7 separate regions of the Homo sapiens genome follow, and regions 1, 2, 4, 5, 6 and 7 are each linked to region 3. The links are contacts of gene promoters, found by promoter capture Hi-C in blood cells and fetal thymus (Javierre and others, 2016). All regions are on one chromosome and are shown on one strand. The core of a region is centred on a gene start or on the middle of the fragment in contact, and the rest is flanking DNA. Distances in the headings are between cores, read along the strand shown. Region 1 overlaps MSANTD2 (Myb/SANT DNA binding domain containing 2). Region 2 holds the start of DCPS (decapping enzyme, scavenger). Region 3 holds the start of STT3A-AS1 (STT3A antisense RNA 1). Region 4 holds the start of SIAE (sialic acid acetylesterase). Region 5 holds the start of ROBO3 (roundabout guidance receptor 3). Region 6 overlaps GSEC (G-quadruplex forming sequence containing lncRNA). Region 7 overlaps PANX3 (pannexin 3).

What was found. The method cuts DNA at HindIII sites, captures the fragments that hold promoters and counts their contacts. A CHiCAGO score of 5 or more calls a contact.
Region 1: a fragment that was not itself captured here is called in contact with the fragment with the promoter of STT3A-AS1 in region 3 in 1 of 17 cell types (activated CD4 T cells); the score reaches 6.9 in activated CD4 T cells.
Region 2: a contact is called between the fragment with the promoter of DCPS here and the fragment with the promoter of STT3A-AS1 in region 3, in 1 of 17 cell types (naive CD8 T cells). The highest score is 6.7, in naive CD8 T cells.
Region 4: a contact is called between the fragment with the promoter of SIAE here and the fragment with the promoter of STT3A-AS1 in region 3, in 6 of 17 cell types (total CD8 T cells, naive CD4 T cells, naive CD8 T cells and 3 more). The highest score is 8.0, in total CD8 T cells.
Region 5: a contact is called between the fragment with the promoter of ROBO3 here and the fragment with the promoter of STT3A-AS1 in region 3, in 2 of 17 cell types (naive CD8 T cells and non-activated CD4 T cells). The highest score is 5.8, in naive CD8 T cells.
Region 6: a fragment that was not itself captured here is called in contact with the fragment with the promoter of STT3A-AS1 in region 3 in 1 of 17 cell types (fetal thymus); the score reaches 5.8 in fetal thymus.
Region 7: a contact is called between a fragment that was not itself captured here and the fragment with the promoter of STT3A-AS1 in region 3, in 2 of 17 cell types (non-activated CD4 T cells and naive CD8 T cells). The highest score is 6.1, in non-activated CD4 T cells.

What each region holds. Positions count from the first base shown.
Region 1 is chr11:124,795,678-124,798,377 of GRCh38, forward strand. All of the region lies in intron 1 of MSANTD2 (Myb/SANT DNA binding domain containing 2), which reads right to left. Among named protein-coding and RNA genes, the nearest start is that of MSANTD2, 3.4 kb to the right of the region's middle. The HindIII fragment of the contact is 2,862 bases long and covers 1-2,700 here.
Region 2 is chr11:126,302,656-126,305,355 of GRCh38, forward strand. It overlaps DCPS (decapping enzyme, scavenger), which reads left to right and starts at 1,405. Exons shown (of 6, transcript NM_014026.6): 1 at 1,405-1,626. The coding sequence starts at 1,426. TIRAP-AS1 (TIRAP antisense RNA 1) reads right to left here and starts at 1,667. Exons shown (of 2, transcript NR_187388.1): 1 at 1,533-1,667. RefSeq lists a silencer at 1,363-1,492. The HindIII fragment of the contact is 18,674 bases long and covers 1-2,700 here.
Region 3 is chr11:125,591,282-125,593,981 of GRCh38, forward strand. It overlaps STT3A-AS1 (STT3A antisense RNA 1), which reads right to left and starts at 1,287. Exons shown (of 4, transcript NR_132372.1): 1 at 1,137-1,287. STT3A (STT3 oligosaccharyltransferase complex catalytic subunit A) reads left to right here and starts at 1,571. Exons shown (of 18, transcript NM_152713.5): 1 at 1,571-1,637. RefSeq lists enhancers at 556-725, 843-1,437. The HindIII fragment of the contact is 3,144 bases long and covers 1-2,447 here.
Region 4 is chr11:124,672,304-124,675,003 of GRCh38, forward strand. It overlaps SIAE (sialic acid acetylesterase), which reads right to left and starts at 1,436. Exons shown (of 10, transcript NM_170601.5): 1 at 1,339-1,436. The coding sequence starts at 1,405. SPA17 (sperm autoantigenic protein 17) reads left to right here and starts at 1,601. Exons shown (of 5, transcript NM_017425.4): 1 at 1,601-1,649. RefSeq lists silencers at 1,372-1,491, 1,464-1,622 and an enhancer at 1,532-1,711. The HindIII fragment of the contact is 8,074 bases long and covers 1-2,700 here.
Region 5 is chr11:124,864,107-124,866,806 of GRCh38, forward strand. ROBO3 (roundabout guidance receptor 3) reads left to right here and starts at 1,326. Exons shown (of 28, transcript NM_022370.4): 1 at 1,326-1,631. The coding sequence starts at 1,472. RefSeq lists an enhancer at 1,642-2,318. The HindIII fragment of the contact is 17,224 bases long and covers 1-2,700 here.
Region 6 is chr11:126,352,717-126,355,416 of GRCh38, forward strand. All of the region lies in intron 1 of GSEC (G-quadruplex forming sequence containing lncRNA), which reads right to left. Among named protein-coding and RNA genes, the nearest start is that of GSEC, 1.5 kb to the right of the region's middle. RefSeq lists enhancers at 1,862-2,605, 2,606-2,700. The HindIII fragment of the contact is 1,362 bases long and covers 735-2,096 here.
Region 7 is chr11:124,617,848-124,620,547 of GRCh38, forward strand. PANX3 (pannexin 3) reads left to right here. Exons shown (of 4, transcript NM_052959.3): 4 at 1,449-2,509. The coding sequence ends at 2,088. It overlaps LOC124902779 (a long non-coding RNA gene), which reads right to left. Exons shown (of 2, transcript XR_007062932.1): 1 at 1-2,700. Among named protein-coding and RNA genes, the nearest start is that of TBRG1, 3.7 kb to the right of the region's middle. The HindIII fragment of the contact is 1,464 bases long and covers 647-2,110 here.

The DNA.
Region 1 (2,700 bases), core at 134-2,633, 800 kb before region 3:
CTTTTATTTTTATTTTTATTTTTAAAACTACAGTTCTTTTATTCATCCTAACACCTAGCAGACAGCCCTCCACATAGTAAGCACTTAAGTATTTGGTGACTGGAGATATGAAAAGGCCTACAGTAAAAGAGAAAAATCATGCAATCACTAGATAAAAAACTACCTAGATTTGTGTATCTGACTCCAAAATTGGGCTGGAATTGTTAGTAGACAAATTTTCTTCTGGCAAACAAACAAAAATGCAACAAAACTTCAAGATAAACAATCTATGTAGTAAGGCAGTGTCAAACACATCCGTTTTACCCAAACGACAGAACAAATACCAATAAGATGACAGACATCAAAATCAAACTTTGCAGCAATAAACAAATTTTCATATCTGACTGTAAATTAAAATCTTGTGTGCTTAGAAACATGTTCATTTAGACAGTATTAAAAAGTAGGATGTTAGTCTCAAAATCCAAGAGTTAAATTATTAATTCAATTTCAATACTTATAATTTTAGTATTTTTACTGTATAGATAAGAGGACCAAGGCACAGTCCAAAGAAGGTAAGTGACATGCTTTAAGGTGATTCAGGAAGGTGGTCAGAAAAGGGTGCAATAAGGCTCAGCTTTCTGATCCTTTATACAATGTGAGGAAGGCTGCTAATCAGAAATTATCTGACTAAAGGAAGGTTTGCATGGAAAAATTAAAGTTGCTATATAGCTCTTCCTTTTAAAGTTAGAAGAAATTATTTACTGGGTTTTCATAGTTGAATTCTTTTTTTTTAAGAGACCAGGTCTCACTATGTTGCCCAAGCTGGAGTACAGTGGCTATTTACAGGTGCTATGATCATGGCACACTGCAGCCTCAAATTCATGAGCTCAAGCGATCCTCCCACCTCACCCTCTAAAGTAGCTGGGACAACAGGGAAGCGCTACTGTACCCGGCTCATAATTGAATTTTTGACAGGAATTTCAAATATATTAGCCCAGAAATGTAATTGACTCACACATATTCCTTCTCTGTGAGCCTCTGACATTGAGTTCACATGTACTTTAGTCTGCGTAAGAAGTTCCTCCTTTTCCTTTTCCACATCTTACTACTTTGCTTCTATTTTGTAAAATCTAAAGCAAAAAGTATTACTAAGTTTCTTTTTGTAGTTCTCATCAACACAAAGTGAAAGAGATTTTTGAACTACTTGTTTTAAATCTGCATTTCTGAAACTGGGATCTAATGACTTCTTTTCAGAGGTTTGAGATTCTCTGAGATTTTAAGATAGCAGTTTTATTTTCATAAGCATAATCTGAGTTACTTGAACATCCACTTCATAATTGTGTAGGAATATGATTTCAGTGACCACATTTGCTTCTGTGCTGAAGATTACATTCACACTAAATCTCCTTAAATGCAGTATTCTTCAGACTGGGTTCCAAAGTCTGTTTTTTCGTTAAACAGCAGTATTATTGAATAATACTGCTGCAGATTTTTATATTTTCCAATATTCTCTTTCTAGACTTTATTTGGTGAATTAATTAAATAAGGCCGGATGTGGTGGCTCTCGCCTATAATCCCAGCACTTTGGGAGGCCAAGGCAGGCGGATCGCTTGATTCTAGGAGTTTGAGACCAGTCTAGGCAACACAGTGAGACCCTGCTTCTAAAAAAACAAAAATACAAAATTTAAAAATTAGCTGGGCGTGGTAGTAAATGCCTGTAGTCCTAGCTACTCAGGAAGCTGAGGTGGGAGCATCACTTAGGTCCAGGAGTTCAAGGCTGCAGTGAGCTATGATCACGTTACTGCACTCCAGCTTAGGCAACAGAGCAAAACCCTGCCTCCATTAAAAATAAACATAAAACAAATTAAAAAAAATGTAGTGTCTACTATATGCTAGTACAGCAGTGAGTAAGAGAGACCAGAACCTGTCCTTAGAGAGCTTATCATTCTGGCAGGAACACTCAACATTACTAATGAAAAAGTCTGGGTTCTTTGATTGAAATCACATAAAGAGTAGAGCACTTTAAAACACAAAACAGTTATCTGCCCTCCTTGTTAACAGCTACTATGGATCAGAGAACCCATACTCATCAGCACATTCCCAAAATACCCTAAGAGCTTGAGGTCAACTTGGTTTTACCTGTCTGGACACAGGTAAACCAATCCTCTTCTAAAAATTATTCAAATAAATCTCCTTTTCTTGCTTTAAGTTATCCTTCTCATAACTGGACAATGAAACAACCCAATTAGATACTCCCTGGTTGAGAAACAATTTTATGGAGAGATTTATATTCAGTGAGGTTTTGACAACACACTTTTTCTGCGTGATTGGGAAGTTTCTACAGACAGAAATCAATCAAGCTGAAACAGTTTAAAATGCCTAAAATGCACTTCTAAACTCAAGAAGAGGTCATGGATAGACGCTAGCCAAGACAGTACAAAAAGTCTCCCAAAAATTTAACCTTGGCTGGGCACGGTGGCTCACGCCTGTAATCCTAGTGCTTTGGGAGACTGAGGCAGGACAGCTTGAGACCAGGGAGCTAAAACCAGCCTGAGCAACGTAGAAGACCCTGTCTCTTAAAAAAAAAAAAAAAAAAAAAAAAAATTTAATGAGCCAGGTGTGGTGGGGCATGCCTGCAGTCCTAGCTACTGGGGAGGATTGTTTGAGCCCAGGAGTTCTTCAGGTTGGGCAAGAGAGGGAGATCCTCTCTCTAAATATAAA
Region 2 (2,700 bases), core at 155-2,654, 710 kb after region 3:
CCTGGCCTAAAGTAGTCTTTTATCCAACTCCTAATCTATATTTCTGGTAGAAGTAATCCAAAAATCAAACTAACACATGGTACACTTTGTTATTGACCAAAAACTGACTGTAAATTGCATCTTGTTGCTAACGTTGAGAATGGCAAAAACTGTCCCACACCCATGAGATCTGTCTGAAAACCTAAACTCAAATCACTGGCAAAATAAATGTGTGGCTGACTGAAGCGATGTAAGTACCAACTCTTTTTTTTTTTCTTTGAGACGTAGTCTCGCTCTGTCGCCAGGGTGGAGTGCAGTGGTGCGATCTCGGCTCACTACAATACTCCGCCCGCGTTCAAGCGATTTTCCTGCCTCAGCCTCCCGAGTAGCTGGGACTACAGGCGCGGGCCACCACGCCCGGGTAATTTTTGTATTTTTAGTAGAGACGGGGTTTCACCATGTTGGCCAGGATGGTCTCGGTATCTTAACCTCGTGATCCGTCCACCTCGACCTCTCGAAGTGCTGGAATTACAGGCGTGAGCCACCGCGCCTGTCCGTAAGTACCAACTCTTCACAAAATTTAGATCTGTTAAATAACACCAGTGAAAAACGGGCTAACCAGAAACAATGGTCACCAAAGAAACCCTCAACAGCAGAAGTTACAAGTAATAATTTTATATGGCAAAAAAAAAAAAAAAAAAAAAAAAAAAGAGAAACGAAACCCTGGGAGACGAATCATACTGCAAATCATATCCCTGGGTAGCAGGGCAGAAATACAGGTAAACAAAATAGAGAGGAGGGGGATGCCTCTAGCCCGGAAATAAGTGGGTGGTGGAGATGGTTCTTCTGGCCATATTCGTTTACCTTTTTTGTCAGCAGAAAAGTACTGAGTCTACAAAGTAAAAAACTGACCACGATGAAAATTTCTGCAAAGTAATTAAAATGGGAGAAAAATGGAAATGGCTTAAATACTCGGTATAAAAAATCGACCAAGGAATCAAATGGGCTCACGGATTTGCGTCAGAAACGTTGCTTCCCCGATAATTGGTCAACGTCGGTGTAACTATGATTAAAATGTCAGTATTCAAACAAGGGCTCCAACACTACCGTGGCCCAAGGGCGTCTTCGGCTCCCACCCCGGGGCGTGGGCCTGGGGGTCCCTCTTCACTGCGCAGCCACCTCTAGCCCGCCGCTTTCGGGACTCTCAGCCTTCTTTTCCCTTCCCTGAGGGCCGGCCGGCACCACAACGGGGCCAAAGGCAGTAACTCGGTTGAAAGGCGCGCCCTGGGACAGGTCAGCGGGCTCCGCCATGCGCGGCACGCATCCCGCAGGAGCGGGTGCCAGAGCAGGGTAGGCCGGGAGTTAGCAGCCCAGCCAGGCCGCTGGACTCGGGCTAGGGGCGGGGCCAGCGCAGGGGGCGCAGGCGCACACCGCCTCCGCGGCAGCATGGCGGACGCAGCTCCTCAACTAGGCAAGAGGAAGCGCGAATTGGACGTGGAGGAGGCCCACGCCGCCAGCACAGAGGAAAAGGAGGCAGGAGTTGGAAATGGTACCTGTGCTCCTGTCCGCTTACCGTTCTCCGGCTTCAGACTGCAGAAGGTGCTGAGGGAGTCTGCGCGGGACAAAATCATTTTCCTACACGGGAAGGTACCAGGAGGCAACCCTGAGGTGGGATGCGGGAAGCAGTGAACCAATCATCGCCTCGGAGGCAGATTTTTTTTTTTCGGATCTCGGCTGGAAAATACCAATCATTATCACTCCGGGGAGGCGGGAGTGCGCCACTAGAATGCATAGAGGGGCGGTGAAAGGCGGCAAGATTGCCTTTGAAATTAAGGCAATGAACACATCTAGCTCTAATTTTTCTAATGTCTCCACTAGAAATATCTACTGGGAGAGTGCATTGCAGATTAAAGATCACATGTTACATTCCCCAAGCCATTCATCATCCATTTATGTATACAGGGACTAGGAACCCAGTCAATGTTAGATGTCTCGCTCATCCCTGTCCGTGGAAACGACATGAGACTGTAGGAGATGTGATCTCTGCCTTACGCGACTTCAGCCGTAACAGGAGAACAATATATTATAATTGTTAATTCAGTTCTACGCACGCACTTTCATGCATGCCAGACACTAAACTAGGTACTGGGGATGTGGAGACGAAAGTTACCATCCCTGATCTTCAGGACTACGGAATATTTCTGGCGAGACAGATACACACAGCTTGCTCCAATACCAACGTGCTCAGCAATCTGGCAGGGGCTGAGGAGAGATGGAGACCATTCCAGGAACTAGTGAGGAGGCCTAGCCAGAGCAGATATGGGGGTTCCCCAGAAACTAGTGAGGAGGCCTAGCCAGGGCAGATAAGGGGGTTCCCTAGAACTACTAGCAGGAACTCTCACCTTTGGGAGGATCAGGGAACCTTGGCCTAGGCTTCCATGCCTCTGTGTGTATCTGGTTTTTAAATTTTTATTTATTTATTTATTTATTTTTGAGACGGAGTCTCTCCTCTCTGTCACCCAGGCTAGAGTGCAGTGATGTGATCTCGGCTCACTGCAACCTCTGCCTCCCGAGTTCAAGCTATTCTACCTGCCTCAGCCTGCCCAATAGCTGGGATTACAGGCCCCCGCCACCATGCCCAGCTAATTTTTGTATTTTTAGTAGAGATGGGGGTTTCACCATGTTGGCCAGGCTGGTCTCGAACTCCTGACCTCAGGTGAT
Region 3 (2,700 bases), core at 37-2,536:
ATCTCGGCTCACTGCAACCTCCGACTCCCTGGTTCAAGTGATTCTGTGTCAGCCTCCCGAGTAGCTGGGATTACAGGCACGCGCCACCACGCCCAGCTAATTTTTCTATTTTTAGTAGAGACGGGTTTCACCATGTTGGCCAGGATGGTCTCTACCTCCTGACCTCGTGATCCGCCCGCCTTGGCCTCCCAAAGTGCTGGGATTACAGGGGTGAGCCACCGCGCCCGACCAAAACTCGTATTTTGAAGAAGCATTTACTCCAAGTTCTGTAATTCCTTCAGGCTCAGCTTCAGTTTCCTTTTGTTAAAGTAAAATTACATCGAACACTTACTACTAAAAACAAAACCAAAAAAAAGCAGATCTATTGAATCATAACGTCCTGGGGCGAGCCTGGTCATGTGGATTTTGAAAAAAATGCATGTGATTCTGAAGCAGTGATTTAAATAATGACCTTTCAATAAGTGGTGGGTTCCGTTCATGGGAGAATAGGAAACTGCGTGAGTGGTAGAGGCAACAAGTTCGAAGAGCTGCGAGACGTTCCCACTCTCTCTGGTGTAGCCTTGGCTCACCGAGGCGCGCAGGGAGTGGAAGTGCCTGAGGATAAAGGTGTACACGTGCGAGTCTGAGATGATGGAATTGCTGCTCAAACTTCGTCCCCTTCTCTGCCCTCAGCAAACTTATTGGGGGTCGGGGAGCGCGTGGGGTGCGAGAGAAGAGAGGCAAGTTAGGATAGGGAGAGCGGCTCTCTGGCCGGTATTTTAACAAAGGGCTGAACTGACTAAGCATGGCCGGGCTGCCTCCCGGTCTCCCGAGGAAGCCCGCTTGCTGCTGGGGAGGGCTGTGCCTCCGCGGCGGTGGCTGTCTCAGCTGGCAGTAGAAATGCTTCCAGCTTAGCCCCGACAACCCCTTTAGGCCTAGGCACGCTCTTTCACAAAACCAGGGGCTGTGAACTCTGTCAAGGTTCCCAGGTCCATCGCAGTTACCAAGGCACAGTAAAAGCTCGAGTCAACTATCAGGCACATCCTGCAAAAGACGAACTGTCTGGACCAGTCCGCGTTTGAGTTTTAATTGAGAATAAATAGGTAGAAAATGCTTCCCTCCTCTCCTTTCACCTTGTATTAGGTAACAATTTCTACCTTAAAAAAGACGGGAGACGAGCGGCTCCGCATTCCGAGTTACTGGGACTTGGAGCAAGGGCCTATTTCAGCGTAGTTTCCGCTTCTTGTCACATGACGGGAGTCAGTGGGCCGCGCCTTCCCACTGCGACTCCCCGTGGGTCCGCAAACCGACACGTCACTCCTCGGCCCTCAACCAAACTGCTTGGGGCACGTTCTTTCCGCGCTCTTGACTCCTACGCGCCGGCCTATGACAGCTCGGCGGGAGCATACAGACCTGCCTCTAGACTGCTAAGTGATAGCTGTAATGACCAATTAAAAACTTGAATCGCGGCCCGGTTTACGCCTCCGGATTTGACAGACAGTTCCGAGACCCTATCGCTCTCCAGAAGCGTCCTATTGGCCTGGAGCCAGCCAACGGGGGAGCGGTCCGGGAGGCGGACCCGGCTCCTGCCAGGGTTGGGTGCGCCGCTGAACGGATGGCTGAGGGAGCCCCGCGGATCGTTTAGGAAAGCCGGCCAGGTGAGAAGGCCGTAGAACGTAACTTGAAAATCAGCGGCAGGTGCAGTCCATGGCGTTGATGGGGCTGAACGAAGTGCAGGAGGCAAAACTCTAAATGGGGGTGGAGAGCAGAGCTTAGGGCCTTGCAGAGGAGGGGGCGTGGGGCGTGGTGTGGGGGCTTCCTGGATGGAAGGATGCGAAGGTCTAGGGAGGGAGGGTAAGGTGGGTCTTGAGAACAGAGCGTGGGAAAGACTGGGTCCTGGGACTAGTTATGGAGGGGAAGGCGCGTAGGATGCTGGGGTGATGAGTGTCCCGCGCTGAGGGGTATCAGAGGTGGTCAGTTCTTTGAGGGTGGGAAGAAGAGGGAGGTGGGACCCGCTGGAACGACCGGAAGGGAGAAGAGAGTAAAAGATCGTGAGAGGGTGTGGAAACGTGTGTAGGAAAACGGGGCTGGGGAAATTGCAGTCTGGGAAACTAGAGGCAGGGTGGCAGGAGATGCCACAGCTTGCAGGGCACAGTTGAGGAGAGCAGGTTGGTAAGTGTTTTAAGAAAGGTGTCTTTGCTCTTATTTGCTTGGCGGTGTGCGAAAGTGACCAAAGAGCACGAGATGAAATCTCCCTTACGGCCCTGCCCTCAATGACTAGCTCGTTTACTCAAGTTTTCAAGTAGAGATCCTAGCAGTCTCATTTTGGTGTGTGGCTCGTATCAACGCAGTGGTGTTAAGTTTGTTCCTATTTCAGGCATTCCAGAAAACAGCTGCAAACCCTGAGAGATATGGCTGGATTGTTGACCTCCTGGAGTAGTTAGGCCTTTATTTTTAGTTGCAAAGTAAGCTTTCCCTTTGGGACTATACTTAAACACATTTCTAAACTGCTCTTCTGGGACAGTTAATTATGGAGAACATGCTTGACTTCTCAGTGTTGGGGCTAGCATTCTATATGCCTTCCACCTAGTCCAGTGTTGTTGTTGTTTTGTTTTTCTCCTTTATTCCAATAATAGTGGGAAAAAAGATTCATGGAGGAGGATAGACAAACGTTTGTTAAGGGATACACAAGTACAACTAGATAGGAATAAATTCTAGTGT
Region 4 (2,700 bases), core at 186-2,685, 920 kb before region 3:
TGAGGAGCTCCGGATGCATTGGCGAGGAGCACAATGGCAGGCTCAATAGACTGGCAATGTTCTAGTTCTTAAGTTGGGTACTGCTCTCATGGGTGTTCATTTTATTGTGTCATTGTTACATATAATTTTGTACATCTCAAGCATTACATGGTAAACATGGGCACAGGGAGAATGACTTAAAGGAAAAACGTCAGGATACGCAACCAAGTAGAGTACTAATGAATGAAAAATGTGATCAATGTTAATGAAGGTGATGTAACAATAAGACCCAAAGGAGGAGATAAAATACTGACACTAAAATAAACAGCCTTTAACTGAAAACCTAATAAAATATCTTTTCCCCACCTCATAAGATGGATCTCAAAGGTCACTGAGTGGAGATAAGAGTCAGGAAATGGCATACAGAGTGCTAGCATTTTGCACTTTTGTTAGACTCTGAACAATCATTTATGGGCTGCAGTTTGTCTGAATCTAGGTACTTTTCCGGCTCTCAGGTAGAGCAGGAGTCATTTTTCTGCACGCTGTTCTCCTACCCCAACTATCATTTCTTAACAGGGATCTCTGGGGTCCACTCTTTGAGTGTTTTGAAACAGAAAGGAAGAAATCCAACATTATCACTTTAGTTTGCATTATCAGACAGATTGCACCTTCTGCTTTCTCCATACTGTGACCCAGTGTCCAGCCTAGGGTATTCGAATGGCAAGATCTGACCTGCGCAACAGCCAAAGGGAGCCACCAGCCTCCCCTATGCCACTCACATTTTCCCACCACCAATATCTGTAAGCGGTACCAGAAATCAAAACTGAGCCTTAAATAGTCAGAGCTAGTGAGGGGGTTGTATTTCTTAGCCCTGATAACCACTTAAACGAGTAAAATTTAATTCCCCTAAGGAACCCCGCCTGAAGCAAACCCTCCCCAAGGGCACCACTGAGGGGGTAGCGCTGAAATGTTTTGGAAGATTCAGTCACCTGTTTCCAAATATTACCTAACTAGCTTCGCCTCCTTCCCTCCGAGCTCCCCTGCAGTTACTCCAGGACCCCGAAGGCCTCTTTCTGGGCACATTTGGGCCTCCCCACTCAGACAAGCCGCACTTTCTCCCTGCTCACAGGCTGCATGTCAGGGATGGTAAGTGGGGGGTGGAGAAAGTGGAGAGGCCGGGGTTCAACCCAGCAGACTCCTGCAGACCGGGCCTCGGTCGGAGACGCGAGCCCCTAGCCTAGCTAGGTTCCTTCGTCGACCTTGAGAAAGGGGCGCGGATCCGTGTCCCGCAGAGGACACGGGGTCTCGGAGCCCGCACAGGCTGAGGGGCAGGGGTCCGGCCGAGCCGGGCCGCCTCACCTGCACTTCTGTCGGCCCACAGGATTAATGGCAGCACCAGCCCGAGTACAAGCCCCGGCGCGACCATGCTTGCAAGGATCTGACCGCCGCCTAGGACTGGGAAAGTGGGTTCCCGGCAGGGGCGGGGCCTGGGCGGGGGCGAGGCCGACTCCACCCTTTTGCAGTCCTCGCAGCCTCCCGCGACCTCAGGACTGGGCTGTACTCGCCCCTTCTCGGCCGCCGTAGTTTTTTTTTTTTTTTAAAGAAAAAACGGTTACCCAGCAACTAGAAAAACAACCGGAACCGGCGGCACCAGCTCGGAGAGAAAGGAGGTGAGGCCGCTTCCCCACTTCCTCTCCGATACCAAGACCTAGCCTTTTCCCTTCGTCTCTCTTATTCTCTCAGCATCCCAGACACAGCCTCGGAGCCCTGGGCCGTTTGGGAGCCGAGGCAGCCCATTCTGCGCGAGTCTGAAATCCCAGGTCCTCAACATCCCGCCCCCGACTAGACCCGTCTGCCCCCTCCGCCCGCCCTCCTCTGCCCACATTGGTTCAGAATCTCGCCAGCTCTTTTCACCACTCTAGAATGGTTCGATACCCCCATCTACTGCTCCCTCAGAAAAAGCAAAAGAGAGGAGTCAGGCGTGGTGGCGCGCGCCTGTAATCCCAATTGCTCGGGAGGCTGAGGCGGGATCATCGCTGGAGCCCAGGAGTTCGAGGCCAGAGACCCCCTCTCAAAGAAAAAAAAAGCGATGAAACGAGAACCCTCCATAGTCTGAGCCTCATTAAACCGTCCAGTTCTCCCAACCTGGACCCCTACCACGGCCTCCGCCTCTATTCCGCATTGACGCACACTCTCACATTAACAGGCCAGGTCCCGGAGGATTCTTTTCATACTCAGTAGTAGCTCAGCCCGCTGCTTAGCAGCTACCCTTAATCTAGCCCTTGTATTTCAAGACAGAAAGAGACAACCTGATCAAGAAGAAACCGAAAAATATAAGAATTCTAAAACTTTAGAGGCTGGGATTTCAAAATCATGACACACAGCCCCATCCCATCCCATCCCTCCCTCACACACACGCACGCACAACCCCATTCCACAGTACGAAGGTGTTCGAAGCATTGTGGGTCATGCTTCAGAAGTGGCAGCAAGGGGAAAGATTGTGCAACTTCTTCATTCAACAAATTAATTTCTAGAACCAGGACTAATTTCTACTCTTTAAAAAAAAATAGACCTCAAAGAAGGTCTTCTCAGCAATTGACAATGAATTTAACTTTTTAGCAATCATTCTCTCTAAATTCCTGTGTGATAGCAAAAATTACCCTTACCTTTTGAGCATATAAAGGGTAAAGAGAGAAAAAGTCATATTGAAAATTATGGGTT
Region 5 (2,700 bases), core at 76-2,575, 730 kb before region 3:
CCATAGTTGGAGGCTCACAGCCAGGCGCCTGGACTGAGGAAGGAGGCTTGGAACAAGCCCCCCACCCCTTGACAATGTCTCGGGTTCCCTTGAACAAGCTCTGCCTGAAATATTTCAATTCTTGATTCTGCTTACTCCAGAGTCTGCGACTGTATAGCACCCACCCCTCTGATCTCGACCCCTTTGGGGTCAGAAGCAGTCGCCCCATGAAAGTTGTCTCATCCCAGAACCTGACGGCTGAGCCAGAACTCTGGCACTGACTCTTCAATCAGCAGGGCCTTACCTCAGGTTAGGAATGCCCCGGCCTCTCTCTTTCCCTGATACCCCAAAGCCATCTCCTGTCTAGGAAAGTGAGTTTGTCGAGGTGGGTCTTCAGGTAGAAAGAACTCCAGAAAAGTCAGAAGCAGACCGCGACTGGAAGTGGGAGGTGGGAGTAGGGGCCCATGGTTTTCTTTTCGCCCCCCCCAGGAAGGACGACTGCTATCCGATTTGAACAGATTTGCACTAATTTTGCAGCAATCCCACATGCCTTTACAAAAATAATATTATCTTTGTTTTTGTCCTAGAATCCTTGGTTCCATTTCAGTCTCCTCAAAAACGTAAAACAATTTAATAAAAAATGTCAAAGCAGGGTAATGTAAAAGGATTCAAATAAATGACAGTTGCCTGGGTTTCCCTGGCTTTCAGTCTCCTACAGGAACTCCTAGATTAGGGCGTTTGGAGCAGGACTCCCGGGTCAGGGCGCGCCGCTCCATCCTCTGGCCTCCTGGCTGCAGACCAAAGGACCAGAGGGCAGAGAGGTGGACCTGTCTTGGAATTCTCTGCCTACTCCCAACTCTTGCTGCAAACCACCCCAGTCTCCTGCCCTTCCGTCGCCAAACCCCTAGACTTGGGAGGGAATGGAAACCAGAACTTTGGCAGCAAGGAGCATTGCTTGCGCTTTGCCTCAGTTTCCAAAAGGTTCGGGAAAAGAGAGGACAGATTCCTGTTCTAAAGTTGGGCAGAAGGGCAGAGTCCGACAGAGCCTCGTCCCTCATCTTGGGTGCTTTGAGACAGGGAAAATCTCTCGCCGCGTCCAGAACGGAACGCTGGGCTTGGGGTGCGGGGCGGGGACTCCAACTCGCGCGCTACGCTACTCGTGTCTCCTGCTCGGATAGTGACTGTAGAGGTAAGGGTGGGAGGGTGGAGGGAGGCGGATTAATCCCTTAATTACGCCGTGATCGGCGTGGCACCTGCTTTCCGCCTGCCCAGCTCCCAGGGGACTCCGGCACTAGGGGGTGGAGAGAAGGACGAGGGAAGGAGGAGGGCACGAAGAGGCACCGACCGTACCCAGGCGCACCGGCAGGAGAGCGGCACCGTGGCTGCCGCAGCGCGCAGAGGCTGTGGAGGGGCTTACGGCTCCCAGCCCACGGGTCTCAGACCCAGGGGCTGGGCCCCCAGCCCCCAGTCCCGATCCCAGCTGGGTCGAGCCATGCTGCGCTACCTGCTGAAAACGCTGCTGCAGATGAACTTGTTCGCGGACTCTCTGGCCGGGGACATCTCCAACTCCAGCGAGCTGCTCTTGGGCTTCAACTCCTCGCTGGCGGCGCTCAACCACACCCTGCTGCCTCCCGGCGATCCCTCTCTCAACGGTGAGACCCTGCCTCTTGGGGATATGGGATCCTGGGATGGGGATGAGGTGAGAGGGCGGCGTGGAAGGGAAGGAGAAGCGCTCCTGTCCCGAGGTCCGGGATTGAGTGGCGCCTCCCAGCGCCTCCCTGGGTCGTGGGGTCTAAGGGATAATTTGGAGCTTCGAGCACATGAGTGGGGGTACCCGCGGGAGGTCGAGGGCTTGGGAGAAGATGGCTACTGAGTCTTTTTACACCTCCTTCCCTTCCCCTACAACGCCCACCCCAGGTGAGAAGAACCGTTGCTGGTAACGGGCAGGGAAGTCCGAGCTAAGAAAGGCCCGGGCCCAGCGCAGGGAGGGCAGAGGAGGGGGCACAGTCTCCCGCCGGCCTCGGCCAAGCCAGGTCACTCGGTGACCCACCCAGGCAGCTGGTCTTCGGAACCCCGAAGTTTCCCAAGAACTCACTTAGGACCAGAGGAAGCCAAAATGCTGGATGTGTTTGCTACGGAGGGGATAGGGGCGGCGATCATTTTAAGGAAACTTAGAAGTTTGTCTTTCAGCGGCGGGACTCTCAGCCGGCCCACCCCGGCAGAGCTGTGGCGGGCGGGCGGAGCTGGCGGCGAGGTCGTTACCGCTAATTACGGTGATTAATAAATGACTGGGACAGCGCGCTCTCCCCTAGCGCCGCGGGGAAGCTGCGGGAGCCGGCCGCCGCCAGCCTGCGGAGAGGCCGGAGCGCGCCCCCTGCCTGCCGCATCGGGAACCCCCGCTTTACCGGGCGCTTTCGCGTGTGGTTCCCTCCAGGTGCACGCGGTCCCCATCCCTCTGCCTCGACCCACTCGAGTCTAGTGACGAGCACTGTGCTGGGGACTCGAAGGTGGAGAGAAAGGAGACCCTGGCAATATGTGTGTGTTCATGTGTGGGGCACATCAGGTGCTGAGGGAGGAGCCCCAGAGCCTCATTAGCATGGCCATTAGCTATTCATTAGGCTGCAGTCGAAGCATCTCCTGAGACCGGGAAGGGTAGAGGGGGAAATTCCAGGGAAAGGGCGCCTGCAGCTGTGTCTACAGGAATTAGGGGGAAAAGGCCGA
Region 6 (2,700 bases), core at 166-2,665, 760 kb after region 3:
GGGGGGCCTGGGGCCAAAAAAGCACATGGAGAGGAGAGAGGAGAGAAGAGGAGAAGGAAAGATGGAAAGACAAGAAAAGAGAGAGAGAGAGGAAGGAAGGAAAGAAGGAAGGAAGAAAAAAAAAGAAAGAAAAAGAAAGAAGAGGAGAAGGAAAGATGGAAAGACAAGAAAAGAGAGAGAAAGGAAGGAAGGAAAGAAGGAAGAAAGGAAAGAAAAGAGAAGAGGAGAAGGAAAGATGGAAAGACAAGAAAAGAGAGAGAGAAAGGAACGAAGGAAAGAAGGAAGGAAGAAAGGAAAGAAAGAAAAAGAGAAGAGAAGGAAAGATGGAAAGACAAGAAGAGAGAGAGAGAAAGCAAGGAAGGAAAGAAGGAAGAAAAAGAAAGAAAAAGAGAAGAGGAGAAGGAAAGATGGAAAGACAAGAAAAGAGAGAGAAAGGAAGGAAGGAAAGAAGGAAGGAAGAAAGGAAAGAAAAAGAAAGAAGAGGAGAAAGAAAGATGGAAAGACAAGAAAAAGAGAGAGAAAGGAAGGAAGGAAAGAAGGAAGGAAGAAAGGAAAGAAAGAAAAAGAAAGAAGAGGAGAAGGAAAGATGGAAAGACAAGAAGAGAGAGAAAGGAAGGAAGGAAAGAAGGAAGGAAGAAAAGAAAGAAAGAAAAAGAGAGAAGAGAAGAGGAGAAAGGCACCAGAATTGCTTCCCTCCTGCCCCAAAGATGACATGGCTTCTAGGCAGTGAGCTAAGCTTGTGGCCATGCTGTTAAGAAACTGGAGGGAAAAGATCATCATGAGTAAGCACATTGTGGCCTAACCTGAGGGGAGCAGAATTACGGTTAGCTTCTGGGCACCTAGTAACCAGGCTTGGGATAAGCTGGGGGAGAGGCCTGAATACAGCTTATAGGTTAGAAAAGGCACGCCACCTGCATAGTAACAGCACACACTTATATATAGCAGGTTATGCTTTCAGACCAAATTCGCATCCATTGCCTGATTTAATGCCAACAATAGCCCTTTGAATAAGCAGTTATTTCCTTTCCCCTCCCCCCACCCCAGTAAGAAAACTAAAGCTATTTAGTGGCAGAGACAAGAGTTGGAACTCAGGTCTCCAGGAACAAATGCTGGTTCTTAAGTTCCATTTTCTGGTAGAGTGACATTTACGTGATTCACGGCAAGAACTGCAAACTGTGCTTAGATCTAGTTCATCAAATGGCCAAGTTTAGAGGCTGGGCTGACGCTTGGATCAGTTCTGTCAGATTCACTTAGTTATGAAGGGCAGCTGCTTACTCCCTTTGGGCCAGTCTTCCCATCTGTAGAACAAGGAGGCTCTTCCCTCTTCCTCGACTTGCCCGAGGCAGGGACTTAGTCATTGTGTTCTTTATACCCAGCTTAATTCCAGGCCTGGAGATGGCATGCAATAAATAGTTGTTGAATGGCTCACGCCTGTAATCCCAACACTTTGGGAGGCCGAGGCGGGCGGATCATAAGGTCAAGAGATCGAGACCATCCTGGCCAGCATGGTGAAACCTCGTCTCTACTAAAAATACAAAAATTAGCTGGGCATGGTGGCACGCGCCTGTAGTCCCAGCTACTCGGGAGGCTGAGGCAGGAGAATCACTTGAACCCGGGAGGCAGAGGTTGCAGTGAGCCAAGATCACGCCAGTGCACTCCAGCCTGGCGACAGAGCGAGACTCTGTCTCAAAATAATAAATAAATAAATAAATAAATAAATAAATAAATAGTTGTTGAATGCATGTCTGACTGATTAAGCCAAAGGCACCATATTCAAACAAAATCAGACACTGGTGCAATGCCAAACAGCTTCTGCCCGTGCAAGGAATGATTTAGCATGGAGCACAGTCACCTGCAGAGGAACAACTTGGAGGCAGACTCTCCTTACTCAGCTCACTTGGAGCAGAGCTTCCTGAGTTGGGGGTTCTTGACAGATAAGCCCTCCAGCTTCAGCAGAAGCAGGCTTGGAGCTGCCACTTCTCTGAACCCCCTTGCACTTACTGTCAGTCACTCACACCTTGCACTTATTCACATCCTATCCTGCCTCGTTCTTGAATGGAGTCCATGGTGAGCCTTCTCTGTGCCGCTGGATGGTAAGCTTCCTGGGGACAGGGAATGGGTCTGATAGTTTCCTTGGAGCCCCTGGCGCTCCCGGCACTGGGCTGTTGATACGTGGGGCTCCGGAAACACTGTGCTGACCTGTGAAAGGGACTGGCCTAAGGGGCTGTGGATTGTCCTGTAGGGTGACTTCTGAACTGTTCTTCAGCCTGGGCAGTTCCCAGGTTTATTTGGGGGGATGCCTGGGTCCAAAGAACCAGGGTCAGGGGCCCAGGGGTTTCTTCCTGGAGACAGGATGCCTGGCGCCTTCAATAACGGAAAGGAAACTGAGAAACTTTCTGAGGCCAAGATAAAGAGTATGCAAGTGAGGGGTGCAGAGAGAGCAGTTTAGGGGCAGCAGGCCCCAACCGAAGCAGAGGAAGGGCCCACGTCTGGGCCCAGGGGACTGACTGGCTGCCTTGCGTGCATGGGGCACGGGAAGCATAGGCTCCCGGAACAGGACCCTGCCCCAGTTTCCCCAGTGAGGGAAGGACACCGTTCCCCGTGGGATAGAGCACTGCACCCTTTCTTGATTCTCATTGTTCCCGGGAGCGAGCGCCTTGGCTGCGCTGGGCATACCCACCCTGGCGCCATTCACAGGCA
Region 7 (2,700 bases), core at 129-2,628, 970 kb before region 3:
ATTCTAACTACCAGGTGACAGAAACCTTCCACCACACTTAGGCAGCCTCCTCCTTTTCCCCTGAACAAATTATTTATCTATGTAATCATTCCTCCACCTGCATACAGGCATTGTCCTGGGTGCTTCTGATACATTCACTTGTATGTGTTGGGGGATGGGGGTAGGAGAGACAAAGCTGTACCTACCCATGTGGGGCTTACATTCTATTAAGGAAACACAGACAAATAAACAGAACACAGAAATGAAATCTACGTTCTGAGATAATAAGTGGTATGAAGAAAAGAAAAAGTAAAGTGGGAAGTGGGGCAAGAGGAAGCTGGAGGGATGGAGAGTGGTGTAGCTTCACACAGAGTGGCCAGGCTAGATGGCCCAAGGAGACAATTGCGCTAACATTTGAATTATATTGTCCCATATTTATGCACATACTCTATCTTCTGAAAAAAAATCCTCTCTATCTTTTGAAGCCCAGATTTCAGCCAATATTTTCCATAAGGGTTTCTGAACATTGAAGGCCACACTGTTACCTCCCTCTCCTAACTTTTACAGCCACTGTGGTTTGTGTCCACTATTTTAGCAACAAACCAAGTGTCATTTTTATTCCGTATTTGCATGTCTTATCTGCCCCTTCCCCACAAGCCAGTCTCTAAGCTTCTTCAGAGCACAAACTGGCTTACATGTACCTGAACACCAAAGCTCTCGACAAACATTTGTGAGCCAAATTATTTACATAAGATGAATGAATTGTCCCAAAGATCATACACAGAGTACACAGGCCAAGAACCAGAATGTACTTTTTTTGGAGTGGGGGGGTGGGGGAGACAGGGTCTCACTCTGTTGCCCAGGCTGGAGTGCAGTGGCACGATCTTGGCTCATTGCAGCCTCAGTCTCCTGGGCACAAGCAATCCTCCCTCCTCAGCCTCCCAAGTAGCTGGAACCATAGGTGTACACTACTACACCCAGCTAATTTTTGTATTTTTTCATAGAGATGAGGTCTTACTGTGTTTCCCATGGTAGTCTCAAACCCCTGGGCTTATGGGACCCTTCCACCTCGGCCGCTGGGATTATGAGCATAAGCCACCATGCCCGGCCCAGAATGCACTTAGCTAAACCCCCAATCCAGTGCTAATTTCATAAGCCTATTGCTACCTAAAGATCCTACTTCAGCTTAGAACTTTAGTCCGCCTTGCTTGGCAGAAATCCAGTGTAATAAATCATTACTCACTGATCATTCACTGGGTTTATCACATTGCAGTAAGTACTTGGAGAATCAAGATATACTCATATGCCTCAGTTTGGGGGAGAAGCATGGTTATGCTCGGGAAGACAGATTTTCATGGGAACCAAGAATGCCATGTTGAAAACAGATCTGTTACTTTGTCACATGCCTCTCTTAGAGTATGGTTCTAAATGGTCACTACTAACCTTGCCTCCTTCCTTCCACTGCCCAGGGCTCGGAAAGAACGATACTTTGAATTCCCTTTGCTAGAGCGGTACCTGGCATGTAAGCAGCGTTCACATTCGCTAGTGGCTACCTACCTCCTGAGGAACTCCCTCTTGCTCATCTTCACCTCCGCCACTTACCTATACCTTGGTCATTTCCATCTGGATGTCTTCTTCCAGGAAGAATTCAGCTGCTCCATCAAGACAGGGCTGCTAAGTGATGAGACCCATGTCCCCAATCTGATCACATGCAGGCTGACATCACTGTCCATTTTCCAGATTGTTAGCCTCTCCAGTGTAGCAATATACACCATATTGGTTCCAGTGATAATATACAACCTCACACGGCTATGTCGGTGGGACAAACGACTTTTATCTGTCTATGAGATGCTCCCAGCTTTTGATCTCCTCAGCAGAAAGATGCTAGGATGTCCCATCAATGACCTCAATGTGATCCTTCTTTTCCTCCGAGCTAACATCTCTGAGCTCATCTCTTTTAGCTGGCTGAGTGTCTTATGTGTGTTGAAGGATACAACCACCCAGAAGCACAATATTGACACAGTAGTTGATTTTATGACTTTATTGGCTGGCTTAGAACCCTCAAAACCCAAACACCTCACCAACTCGGCATGTGATGAACACCCATAGTTAAGAAACCATGGAGCAAGAAAGCTTGTGGAAAGTCTCTCTCCTTCCTCATAAGACATGCACACTAATACACATACACACCAAAAAATTACACATTTTAAAACTGCTAAGCTTGGATTTAACTGAATCATATATCTTTTATCATGTTATCCTAAAAGTGAGAAGACATAACCAAGACATGGAAATAAATGTGAAAGCTGGAGCCGAAGAGTCAAAGAGCTAAAAAATTAAGTCTAGAACATTCTATGAGGATAGTATAAATAAAAAGAAATACAGTCTAGACATGCTGCAAGGAAAGAAGATTCTAAAGTCCGTTTATGGAGGCAATTCCATATCCTTTCTTGAACGCACATTCAGCTTACCCCAGAGAGCAAGTGAGGCAATCTGGCAAAAGATTAATAAAGATGTAAACCCCTGGAAACCCTTTGGTGTGGCCTGAAATCCTAGGAATTTACCCAGCTTGCTTTGTAGAAGTTATCAACCTTGTCCAAGTCCTCTGTAGCCTCCAAAGTGCTGGGAGATGATGGCTTCAATTTGTAATCTGCTCTTAGGATGTAAGGACATAGTAGAACAAGGCTGGGGCCATGTCTCAGCCGTGAGTGGAGCCTTCAG